3 separate regions of the Homo sapiens genome follow, and regions 1 and 2 are each linked to region 3. Evidence: promoter capture Hi-C in 16 types of primary human blood cells and fetal thymus (Javierre and others, 2016). All regions are on one chromosome and are shown on one strand. Each heading gives the region's core, a stretch centred on a gene start or on the middle of the fragment in contact. The rest is flanking DNA. Distances are from core to core; before and after follow the strand shown. Region 1 holds the start of HOXC12 (homeobox C12). Region 2 has its middle 7.2 kb from the start of HOXC4. Region 3 holds the start of HOXC-AS2 (HOXC cluster antisense RNA 2).

Region 1 (4,075 bases), core at 77-2,576, 42 kb after region 3:
CTGGACTCCAGGCCCTTTCTCTCCCTTCTCCTTGCCGCCAGTCATCTGAATCGTCTTTTCTACCCAGACCCACATCCCCACCAACTCCCCCACTTTCTTTACTCTTTTTTTTCCTTTCATTCTTTGCTCTTACCTCCTCAACCCTACCTCCTGCTGCACTATTCATGACCCTTCTAAGTCCCTATCCCCTCCTTTTTTCCCAAACCTCTCCCCAATTTTCTTCTTCCCTATTTCCTGGTCCCTTCCTCTCACATCCTTCAGGACTGGATCCCGGATCAGTTACAACAGATATGGGCGAATGGCAGAGTAAACGCATCCACTGGCATTTCTTTCGAAATGTAAGTAATGGGGTCTGTGGGAAGGTGGAGGGAGAGGCGCCTGGGAGAACTAGGGCCGGGCTTTCTGTCCCCACCTCCTCACCCCCAGGCCTGGGGAGTCCCCGTCAGGATCCCCCAACTCCGGAATCCCTGCCGCCTCCAGCCGCAGGCAGACGAAAAAGGAACACTCTCCATTTCTTTTGTGGGGATGTTTACATGTTTATAGGCTCCCCCCACCCGCACTTCATTTTATAAGAAGCTCTTCCTCGCCACACATTCTGTCACCCTGGGCGTCCCTAGCTCAGTCCTGTTCTGCCCGCCCTGGTAAGAGGTCGGGTTTGAATCCGCCGCTTGAGTGGCCGGGGTCCTTACCGCTGGCCGAGAGCCCGCCGCCGGGGTTCAACGGCGATACCAAGCTGCCGGGGTCGCCTGCGCCGGCGCCCTTGTTGCCCTCGTTGAGCAGGGACGAACTGGAGTCGGATTCCAGCGACTGGCAGGAGGGCGGGTCGTGCGGAGGTCCTGCGCCGCCGCCGCCGTCGCCACCGCCGCCGCCCGCCGCGTAGTCGTACTTGAAGCCGAGCGCAGGCGGCCCCGACGGCTCCAGCGGGAGCAGCGCTGCCCCGGGCCCGGCTCCCGGGTCGCGCCCGCGCTCCTCACGCTTCAGGCCCCCGCCGCCACCCTCGGCGCACGGCTCGCGGTAGTAACCCTTGCCGTCCTCCACGCGCGCCAGCTCGCACGTGCGGCCGAAGGGAGGGTTGAGAGACACTGGGCTGCCGAGGTAGGGCTGCGGGTAGCCATTGCACGGCTCCGCCGACGGCCAGGACAGGGAGCACACGTTGTCGCGGCGTGGGTAGGACAGCGAAGGCAGCCCGGGAAGCTGCGCCCCGGACGCGCGGAAGTTGGGGAAGTAGAAGGTGTCTCCCGTGTGGATGTTTACCAGCGGCCCCACAAACCCGGGATTCAGGAGATTATGCTCGCCCATTTCCGCGGGGCCCGACCGGCAGCTTCTACTTTATTGCTATCTGACATTAAACATAGTTAAATCTGCACCAGTCACCCATTGGCCGCCCCACTCACGTGGGCACGGCCGCCAGGGGGAGGGGTGGGGACAACCGATCCCCCCCCCCCACCATCCCATCCCGCACTCTAACTTCCCCCTTCCCCAATCCTGGGGGTGAGTGGGGTAACAAAGGGCGGGGGCAGGTTTATTTGCTGAACTGATTTTCTAAAACAATGTATATAACCTAACGCAGAGAGTAAAGCAATTGCCCAACACGGGGCAAAAGGGAAAAAACACACACCAAAAAATGCCCGCATATATACACCCCTATAACCTGCACCCCCCCCCATATATTATCTTATCGCCAACAGCTGGCCAAGCACAGCCTGTCCCTCTTTAATTAGCTTCTTTATTAACTAAAACCGTTGGAATTTACAATATCTCCTCAATAAATTACTATTAGATATTGTGTCATATAAAGTTTACTGACTGTTTAAGGAGACGGATGAGCCCTTTGGCTCGGGGTTTATTTACAGTAGAGGCGAAGTGGGGGTAAGGACAGGTTTCCCTGCCGTTATCTCTTCCCGCCCCAGCTGCTGCTGCACACTTCTTTATCAGCTCTTTATCCTCAGGAATTTGGAGAGACATTTGGAGTCCTCTTCCCCAATACTCAAGGATAATTGATAATGCCGGGTTTTCCTCTGGAGCCGGGAGCCACCCAGCCTCACACCTCCACTCACGGCTAGAGGAAGGATGCGGAAGGGAGGTAGAGAATGCAGCAAAAGGAGGTGCCTAGCTCCACATGGACCTGCCTGCCTGCTCCTGAAAATCTGGGGGCGAACTACTCTTCTGCTGTCATTTCCGGGGAACTGAGGAGCTTCTGGGGGCCTCCTGGAGTCTTTGCAGTGGGAAGCTTTGGACCCCTAACAGGGCTTGACTGGGCTGAGAGGGGCCTAATTCTCACTGCGGAGGAGACAACTGCACCCCAGAACCGGCCAAGCCTGCCCCTGGGACCATCAGATAGCAGTGCAGAGGCCCGCAGTAGGTTGCCTCCTGAGGGGGCTAGGATTGAGGGAAAAAACCCTTGAAGAATTATCTTATTGGGGGGTGAAATTATATTTATGGTGCAAACTCAGAAGCTCCCTCCAGAGAAGGCCGAGAAGCAATGCTGGCCATTGGTGAGATAATCAACATCTGCAAAACCACAATCCGATCTCAACTAGGTCCACAGAACACAGCCAAGCGGATTAAAAAGAAAGACAAAATAAAACTCCCCCAAACCAGATGTATCCTTTTGGGGTCTAATAGAAAAAACACTCGAATTTCCATGTGATTATTTCGAGCTTCTAACCAATGCATGGCTTAAGTAATACAGGGTTGGATAAATAGTTCAGTAAACGTCTAAATACGAAAAAATACCAGAAGATTGAAAGAAAATTGGAGACAGAGATTCGGAGAGAATGAGAAAGAAACCCATTTAGGTGAAAGTTAAATATCAGAGAAAGCCTGAGAATAAGCCAAAGCTGCAAAAGCAGATCGAAGCAGAGAAGATTCTCCCTTTTTTTCCTCTCCCTCCCCTCTCTCCTCTGCAGGACGCGGCAGAGAGAAACGCAGATTCTTTGAATTCCACCGCTCCCCGGGCGATTTCATATCCCAAACCGTAGCTGCTCACTCCGACAGAAATGTGTCCCCGCGGGCGCCGCCCTGCCCGGAGCAGTTCGAAGCTCGCAGCTCGGTGCCTGTCCCTTGCCCTGCTTGGCCGGTTCCCCTTCCCCGCCCCTGCTTGCCTAGCTGCCCGGCCTGGTCCAGCCCCTCCCGCCCCCAGGAGCCGGCCCCGCGTTAGGCGCACTTGTCGGAACTTAGGGCAAGCCATGGGCTGCAAACCCGAAGCCGCCACCTTCAGTTAGAGCCGGTGGCGCCAAGGAATGAGCAGGAGACTCAGCCTGGATTGGCCTTTTTGTGCCTAACTGATAAGGGGCTGGGAGGCTACGGAGAGGAGCATCTCTCAGCTGCAAATTCCAGGTCACAGCATCTGTAACATCTTATTTCCCCTTCTCAAGATACATTGATGAGCGCCATTGAAATTTTAGTTTTTAAAAAACATTTTATTTGAGGGTTAATTTGGTCATAAAGATAAACAGGGTGTGACATTAATATTGCTGTTGATTTCAATCAGAACATCGTGCGGGCAGCTAGGTCTGCGCCCAGGCTCTCCAGGCCTCTGCGCTCAGCCGCTATTGTTGGTGTGAGGGATGCCGAGCTGGGCTTTGCCAAATAATCACTAGCCTTTGAGGGGTGGAGTATTCTCCTCATTCTCTTTTCCCTTCCCAGATAATTCCAATCTCCTAGAAGAGGGACCCCAAGAGGAAGGTCTCAGCCTCTCCCCATTCCCTCCACCCCAGCAGGCAACTCCCAGGCCGGGAGCTCTGCTCGCTGCCCTCCCAGGCCAGGCCGCTGAGCGTGAGGAGCAGCGGCCACAGGGCGGCGGATGCAACGCAGGAGAAATGAAGATTGGGTGAAGGCGTCCTTCTTCCAGGCACGCATTTCTTCTAGCCTGATTTAGCCTCATCAAAGAGGGCCGTTTTCCCCAGGTTTTGGATTCGGCGGGCAAAGAAGCACGCACAAACCCCTCTTTCTTCTTTGCAGCTGACCCTGATTCCTCTCAGGGAGAGCTGTCGACAACCACTAGCAAAATTCGCATCCCCGGTGTCCTGCTCCCTGAGACCCACCGGGAACCTAGGGGTTTTCAGGACTCTGG
Region 2 (3,819 bases), core at 340-2,839, 50 kb before region 3:
TTGGTCGGGTCACCTCTGTTGCTTCACAAGAAGGGTGCTCCAGAAAAACTCAATTCCCAAAGACCGTGCATTTTAGTAAACTGGAGAGAGCCAAGGAAAAATAAGTGGGGTGATGGAGATTTTATAAGGTTTCCCTTTTTCTGGAGTTTTTAAGGGAGGGAGAGGAAAAGGCAGAGGAGAGGATTGGAGGTCTTTATTTTATTTTCCCCAACCATAGTGAAGTTGGGGAACCCTTGACTCCCCCAGAGAAACCTCTGTGAGAAAGAACTTTGGAGAGCGCGGTCTCCTGGGCTGACCCAGCCATACCAGATCATTACCATGATTAACCTCAATAATAAGATCTTCCCCTCACAAAACACAGCTCCCGGTGTGCCTTTTTTTCTCTTCCAGGAGCTGTTCTTTCTCCTTTCCAGCCCAAAGGGGTCCAGTTTGCTCAGCCCCAAGCTCTCCCTTTAATAACCCCGTCTGCCTCGCACACCCCTTCCAAGCCTCGGCCCATAGATCAGAGTCTTTCCGGGCATGCTTTGAATCCTGGGTTGGAGGAATCAAGGCCGAGAGAGATTTCTTAGTGCCTGAAACTGGGGTGTCACCTCCCTCCATCCCCTCAAACCCAAAGGCAGCATCTTGATGCCATTTGGGTTCGCAAACTTGCCTTGGCAAAATCGTGGCACCAGTGGGATCTGGGGAGCGGCCTTCAACTGCAACTGCGCGTCTCAACCCCACAAAAACGGGAAAGTCGGAGAAGGGGCCATCGGAGGCTTCAGGGTCTGGCCTGGGAGAGGGCACCAGAGTCTGCTCTTCCTAGCCAAGCGGGAATCAATAGCGATGTGTTATAAACTTCCCCGAAGCCCCTCCGCGCGCTCTGGTCCTGGCGGGCGAGCCACGTCCCTAAGCCGCTCGCCAGCCTCGGCCTGCACCTTGGCCGCCTCCTCCGAACCCGGGACCCCCAGCCTTGGGCTTCGTCCCCTCCCTGTTTTAATTACGTGATTGATTTCCGCTTTGGCCGCCTCGGGACGCCTCTGCCTCCGACTGTTTAAATCTTTCGGCTCCTTTTGTGTATTTCCGAGTCCTCCCGGCGGGCTGTAATTTACAGGCGGCCCCTCGGCGGCCGGCGCGCACCTCGCGGCCTGGGTCCGGGGCGGGCTTCGGCCTCGCCCTACATTCCAACGAAATGGTCCTGCCGCGGTGCTCGGGAGACCGGCTCTGCAGCGGCCCCGCGGCGCGGGACTCTCAGGCTGTGGTCCTGCCCATTCGCTTTCTGAATTATTTTGTGCTCCATTATTCTCTGATAGGAAAACGTTCCCTGTGTGGGTTATCCCTTCAGGCCTGGCCTCAAAGCTGGGCTCTCCGCGGTCCTGTGCTTTTCTCCTCCCCCGAATGAGGTGTGTGTTGAAAGGTCTGGATTAAGCCCGGAGGAAGCGCGACGCCTGGCTCCAGGCTTGCGGGGAGCTAGAGCCCCTTCGCCTCAAACACCTGGGCCCTGCGCTGGCGGGCGAGAAGCACCAGAAGAGATGCGAATTCGGCCACAACTTTACGCCAGTCAGCGCGAGAGGGACCACAGGGCTGGCGGTCCCCACTGCGGCCCCTACCCCGCAGTAGGCGGTGGATCTGACTTTCGCTCCACAGCCCAGAGGCCTCCTCGCCCTGGCAGCCCCAGCGGGCACCTGGCAGCAGCCTGGGGTGGCTGCGCGCACCTCCGCCCGGGAACACGCTGTTCAGCCCCTCCACCCAAGGGATTGAAGGTGAGGCGAAGGAAGGGAAAGAGGGGAGAAATTGATGAGAAGGGTAGACTTAGGGTGGGGAGAGAAAGGGGAAGACAAGAAATGAAGAAAAGGAGCCCCTTCTCCCACTGTGGCTGACTTCTTTCCCTTTCTCTTTTTCCTCCCCAAACTGCTGGTTTTCCACTTATTCTCTCATTTATTTACAACAAATAAACATTGCTCTGCTTATTCTACCACGTTGTGTTCATTCTTTGATCTTTTCTAACGAGGCAGCAATGAGTTACCATTAACTGTGTATATATATATATATATTTCCCTCAAGGAGAGAAGGGGATTGGGAATGTCTTTCTGACTGGGAAGAAGTTCAGTGACACTTGAGTTGGCCACAACCTTCTCCCTGTCCCCTGACCTACGACACCCCAATACTTGTCCCCCAGGCCCCCTCCCCCACAGCAATGTTGCCGGGTAAATAAGAGTCCGCCTGCCTGGCTATTAGGATTCTGGAGACGTTGGCATCTGTAGCAATCATTAGTCAAAGCCGCGGAAGCCAAAGGAGCCGAGGAGTTGGACAGAAAAAATCTTGGAAATGATATACAGGAGACGCGGAGGCATCAATCCCAGCCGATAAGAGCGGGGCTGCTGGGCGCAAGGCGGCCGCTTAATTGGGCCCTGGGCACCGAGAACAACTGGGGAGGAGGAACCTATGGGTTGTGCAGTAACCCTGGCATCATTTGGGCACCCTATAAAAACAGTTGGGGACTTGATCCCTTTTTCCCCCACATTTCAAAGGCCCAGTGGGGGGTGTAGGGAGATATACAAGCCCCTGTCAGCCTCTTGCCCTGGGGATCCAACAGGAACTGGGCTGGAGGACTCTCCCCTTTCTTCTCTCCCCCTTCTTTTTAGTGGCTACCTTGAGAGGTAGGGAGCTTCGGCTTGGATCTCAGGTCACAGAGGCAGCCTGGAGGCAGTCTATGACCCCTAGAGTAGGTTTTCGAGGGACAGATAACTTAGTGGGACTAGATTTTGGAGATGGCCTTAGAAATAGAGACAGAATTACTTGCTTTAATAAGCCAAACATCCAAAATATATTTGTTCCCTACCCCCACTCACCTAATATCTTTTTATATCATAGACACAGAGATAGAGAGGGAGACAGAGAGATGCAGTAAGTTTAAGTCCTTCTAGAAGGGAGATCTATGCCCCTATACACAGATGCATGCATTATGAAACCATCTCTAAACATATGTTCAAACATGTAAGTTTTTCAGCAAAAATGCAAAGACTGTAAAGATCTCTAAATATGTAGCTTCAATATGTAGCTATTTTATGGGTTAGGATCCTTGCATAAATCTAGATAAAATTTTCAAAATAGACATTGAACACACACATAGTTCTTTCCAACAAAGAAAAAAATTTCCAAATATTCACTTAGGTGTTTCAAGAGAGCTGTACCAATACATCCTAGCATATACATCCAACCACTATAGAAAGATTGGTAAAGTGCACACAGGAATTTGACCGAGGACTGTTATGTTCACTATGGATCTATAAATCTGCATTTAAATGTGGAACAAAAAGGAATATAAAACATACATCCTGATATAGACATAGAACGATCTATAAATACGTTTTCACATATATAACTATGGGAGCGCTCAGCTCTCTGTGAAGATTATTTGCATGGAGTCCTAGGAATGAAGAGGAATCTCTAGTGCTTGTGGGTTTGGGGTATCCCAGCCCAGGCTTCTCTGAGAAAGAAATGAGGGTGGACTAGAGACTTCGCAAGTGCTAAGAGGGCCCGGAACTCATATAATCTATGACATATTTCCAGCATATAGGGGCATTTTGCTGGCAATGAATATAAGCCCTGATGCCTGGGCCTGAAAGCTTCCTGACCTGATCTGGCTTGAACTAAGGCTGAATTAGAGGGCTCTTAACTTTGTTTTCCTTCAGCTCTGTAGCCCCAGGCACAAGGGAGGGACTTGCCAGCCAGGGGGTGGGGGATCCTTAGGAGGGGAAGACTCATTATCATTAGGAAATGGAGTTATTTAGGTAAAATATATTGTTTGTTTGGTACATAGAGATGTGAGAAGGCTGG
Region 3 (3,625 bases), core at 740-3,239:
TGGTGGTGTAGTAAAGGGGGGCTTTAGTCAAGTAGGAAATTATCAGGGTGGGTGAAGAAGAGGGGGCATGGAGGTTGGCTGGGGGGTGGGGAGAAAGGGACAGGTGAAACCCCCAGAAATATGGTGCACTTAGGCAGGGTAGAGTGAATTTAAAGGAGGGGTGCAATTTCAGGGTCAGAAAGGAAGAGTCCCAGTCTGTGGCCAGGGAAAATAGACAGGAGCTGAGGTTGAGATGCAGGCTCTGGAGGCAGCAGGGTAGGAGTCTTCCCAGACCCGGCCACGCCTGCCCTTCTTTCCCTCTCCTGTCCCCAGGAGGGGACCAAACGCCAGGGGTAGGGGCGGGGGCTAGTTTTCTCCTGCGTCTCTATGGATCTTTCTCCTCTGGGGTGGAGAGGGGCTGGGGAGAGTGTGTATAGTATGTGTGTTCCGGGGGGAGGAAAGTTAGGGGGAGACAGCTGCAGCTGGCAGCACCGACCCCAGCTCCATAGGCCCCCTCCCAAGTCTCTGCTCCTCCCCCTCTCTGGCTCTTTCCTTTTCCTTTTTGGTCTAAGGGGGCGGCTTAACGGGGCTGGGATTTCAACTCATGGGGGAGGATGAGGGATGTGTTTGGTTGGGGAGAGGCGACTTGGGGGTTCAGCTCCTTGGCGCCACTGTCTTCCCCTCCCTTGAGCTGGACTGAGCTGGGAAGCCCAACTTACAACAAGAAACAGAATATCTCTTTGGCCTTGATGGAGTTGGGTTAGCTGTCAATCAAAAAATCTCCCTCACTAGTTCAAGGAAAAGACAGGAGGTTCCAGTCCCCCTGCCGAGGCTTTCTCCAAATCCCCAGTACAGCCAGCACCTCCCCCAGCCCAGGGCGGCTGAGGACCGGGCCCGGCACTTGGGCGGCTGCTGGCAGCGATGAGCAGAGACGTTTAGCCCTCAGCGGGGCCCGGGGCCAGACTGAGACCAAGAGGACATCAGGGGACAGAGCCTGAGAGAGACTGAACCCGAGACAGCCTGGGACAGACCAACTGAAACATGGAGTCAGGCCCAAGAGAGGAAAGAAGGAAGCGGAGCATTAGAATAAAGGGAAAAAAGGGGGAGAATTAAAAGAAGGAAGGCAAGATGAAAAGAGATAGGAGAGCCGGGAAAGGCAGGCGTGCAGAGAGGGAGGCGGAGGAAGGGCGGCCGTAGGCAGGCAGGACGGGGCAGGGGCGAGCTGGCGGAGCAGCCGTGGCATTGTGCAGCCCGCTGGCTTGCCGGGCCTTTGCCGCGGGACCGGCTCCGGGCGCGGCGGCCACTTCTGTCTGGACACAAAGGCGGAAGAGGGCTCCTCTCCTGCCCCTCCCAGGAGACTTGCTCGGATGGGTACTCTAGGCCTCAGGGATATAGAACCCCATATTGGTCCAGACAGCCGCTTAGGCAGCTGGGGGCTGAGCCCTGCTCTATTCAAGGAGCGAAGAAACAGAAGAGGAAAGAGGTTTCACCCCTGCTCTTCCTTTGCGTCTTCTCCAAGCGACAAGGCCAGCTGCCCCAGCCTCAGCTTTCCTGGAGGAAAGAGTCCCTAAGGAGCCTCCCCTATGGGCCTCTGCTATTTGGGAGAGTTCCTCAAATAGACATTGGGGCCGTAAAGAGATGCCCCCTTCTCTCCTACCCCCTTTGAACACCGCCTTCTTTTCAACTCTTGAGCTGCCTGCGCACCCTGCCTGCCCACTCTGCGGAGGCGGCAGCAGCGGGCAGTGAGGCTCACCGGCGGGATCCCTGCTGCCGTGAAATCCCCTGTGAAACCAAGGAGATTGTCGCTTTCCTTTATTTTATTTTATTTTCTGGGACTATGACCTCCGAACTCTTCCCACTCAGAGGCAGGCACGGCTGTGGATCAGGAAGCAGGCCTCGCCCACAGCCCCTTCCCAGCCAATGCCTCATTTTCCCTGCGCCCTTCGGAGAGAGGCGGCCTTGGGGAGGGGGGCTAGAAGAGGCTGGGAGTTCCGGAGTCCACTGGGCGGAGGTTCCGCAGGTCCACAACTGCATGTGGCCTGTAGCCCCCATTCTCCACATTTGGAGGGGTGTGGGTGGCAGACCAGGGCTTTGAAGCGGACCTGCAGATTTCCCTCAAATCCAGGTTTGTAGGTGCGGGGGGCGGGGCACAAAGGATATAGGGGCACCAAGAAGGAAGGTCTGTCTTCCTGGGGTTCAGTTACTCCTTCTGAATCTTCTGCCATACTCCAGACTTCCCCTCACCCACATACTCCCTTCAATTTTCCTCAGCACCGCTGGGGCAAACCCAGGGACTGGAGGCCACTGGGAGTTCTTGTTGGGGAGGGGGAAACCCCAGCTTTAGCTCGCAGCTGTGCATTCACTCTGGTTCTTAGAGTTCCCTCCCACCCCCAAAAGACTTCACTGGGCACAGGAGAGACCCCTGAGGGGGAGGGGCACCCTTACTCCATCACCTGAAACCTGGGCAGCTGCGGCCACAACCAAACTAGCACCGTGGGAAGGACAGACAGAAAGATAGACAGGTTAGAGTCGTCCCCTCCCCCTGCCCCGCGCCTTCCTTTTAGTGATTTAAATTCCCTCCGGTTCAATCCACACCGTCAAGTTCGGATTAAATTTAAAACAGGCTTTCTCCGGTGTCCCCAGCGGGCCATCCCGGCTGCCGCAGGCAGGGAGCCCGCTCCCGGCTCGTCAGCACCCGCCCTGCGCGGAGAAGGCCGTACTCCATTTGCTTTCATTTTCCTTCTCCCCCTGAAATGGGCTCATTTCACCTCTCCACTGCCCTCTTCCCCTCCCCGCCCCCTCCCTGGTTCCCCTCTACTTTCCCCCCTTCTCTCTCCTGATCCCTCTTTGTTGGGAAAAACACACCCACACACAACTCCTCCTAGCTAAGGCCTGCGCTGGAAGCAGAAACTGAGTTCTCTTGGCCTGCCGCGAGGAAACCCGCGTCCTGCCCCCACCCAAGGTGGGTATCTGGGATCCCTACACACCAGGAGTCAGGTCCCGAGGCCCAGCAGGAGTGAAATCCCCAGGGCCTGTGAACGTGGCTCTCTCAAAGCCACGGCCTGCCGGGCCTGCATTCCCGCCGGCGCCCCCGCCCTGACGCTCCGCAGCAAGCGGGGCTATTTCCGGCTCCCCCAACGCGGTCTGGTTTTCCAGCCTGGGAGTGGCTGGAGGGGGAGCCGCCCCAGAGCTAGAGCCGCTCCCTGCCCTGCCCGGAGCCCCAGTGGCCCTGAGCGCCTTGTTACCTGATCTTTTGTGTGATGTATGTGTCGCAAGGAAATTTGCAGTGACTTTGGAGCCCAGACTGAGGAAGCGGAGGTGGCGAAAGGAGAGACAATACGAGCCCGAAGTACAATTAAGGGGCCAGAGCCGCTCGTCTCTCCCCCGCCCTCCCTGCCCGACTGCGAGCTGTCTGGCCTCAAACCTCAGGGCGACACGCGAACCTGGAGCCGGAAACTCAGCCCGTGGCAGAGGGAGTCAGAGGACTCTGCATCCAGAAAACAGAAGCAAAGCGCCCTTCCAACTTGGGGACGCCTTAACCAGCCCCTCTCAGTTGCAGATAACCCAATGAATGAAAGTGCAAATTCCGCCGTTTTTCCCGATTTTTTTTCCAGCCTTGGGAAGGAGAGCTCAGGGTTTGGGGCGT

Evidence for each region. Contacts are between HindIII fragments. The CHiCAGO score rates a contact against its expected background, and 5 or more counts as called.
Region 1: the fragment with the promoter of HOXC12 here is called in contact with the fragment with the promoter of HOXC-AS2 in region 3 in 2 of 17 cell types (naive B cells and total B cells); the score reaches 10.2 in naive B cells.
Region 2: a contact is called between a fragment that was not itself captured here and the fragment with the promoter of HOXC-AS2 in region 3, in 3 of 17 cell types (total B cells, naive B cells and fetal thymus). The highest score is 7.7, in total B cells.

What each region holds. Positions count from the first base shown.
Region 1 is chr12:53,952,154-53,956,228 of GRCh38, reverse strand. HOXC12 (homeobox C12) reads right to left here and starts at 1,326. Exons shown (of 2, transcript NM_173860.3): 1 at 690-1,326. The coding sequence starts at 1,299. LOC105369775 (a long non-coding RNA gene) reads left to right here. Exons shown (of 3, transcript XR_944977.2): 2 at 262-338; 3 at 1,950-2,844. The HindIII fragment of the contact is 3,202 bases long and covers 1-2,232 here.
Region 2 is chr12:54,044,751-54,048,569 of GRCh38, reverse strand. It overlaps a transcript of HOXC4 not described here. Among named protein-coding and RNA genes, the nearest start is that of HOXC4, 7.2 kb to the left of the region's middle. RefSeq lists an enhancer at 1,230-2,129. The HindIII fragment of the contact is 4,043 bases long and covers 1-3,610 here.
Region 3 is chr12:53,995,149-53,998,773 of GRCh38, reverse strand. HOXC-AS2 (HOXC cluster antisense RNA 2) reads left to right here and starts at 1,989. Exons shown (of 3, transcript NR_047505.1): 1 at 1,989-2,104; 2 at 2,865-2,941; 3 at 3,256-3,566. RefSeq lists an enhancer at 2,989-3,557. The HindIII fragment of the contact is 15,520 bases long and covers 1-3,625 here.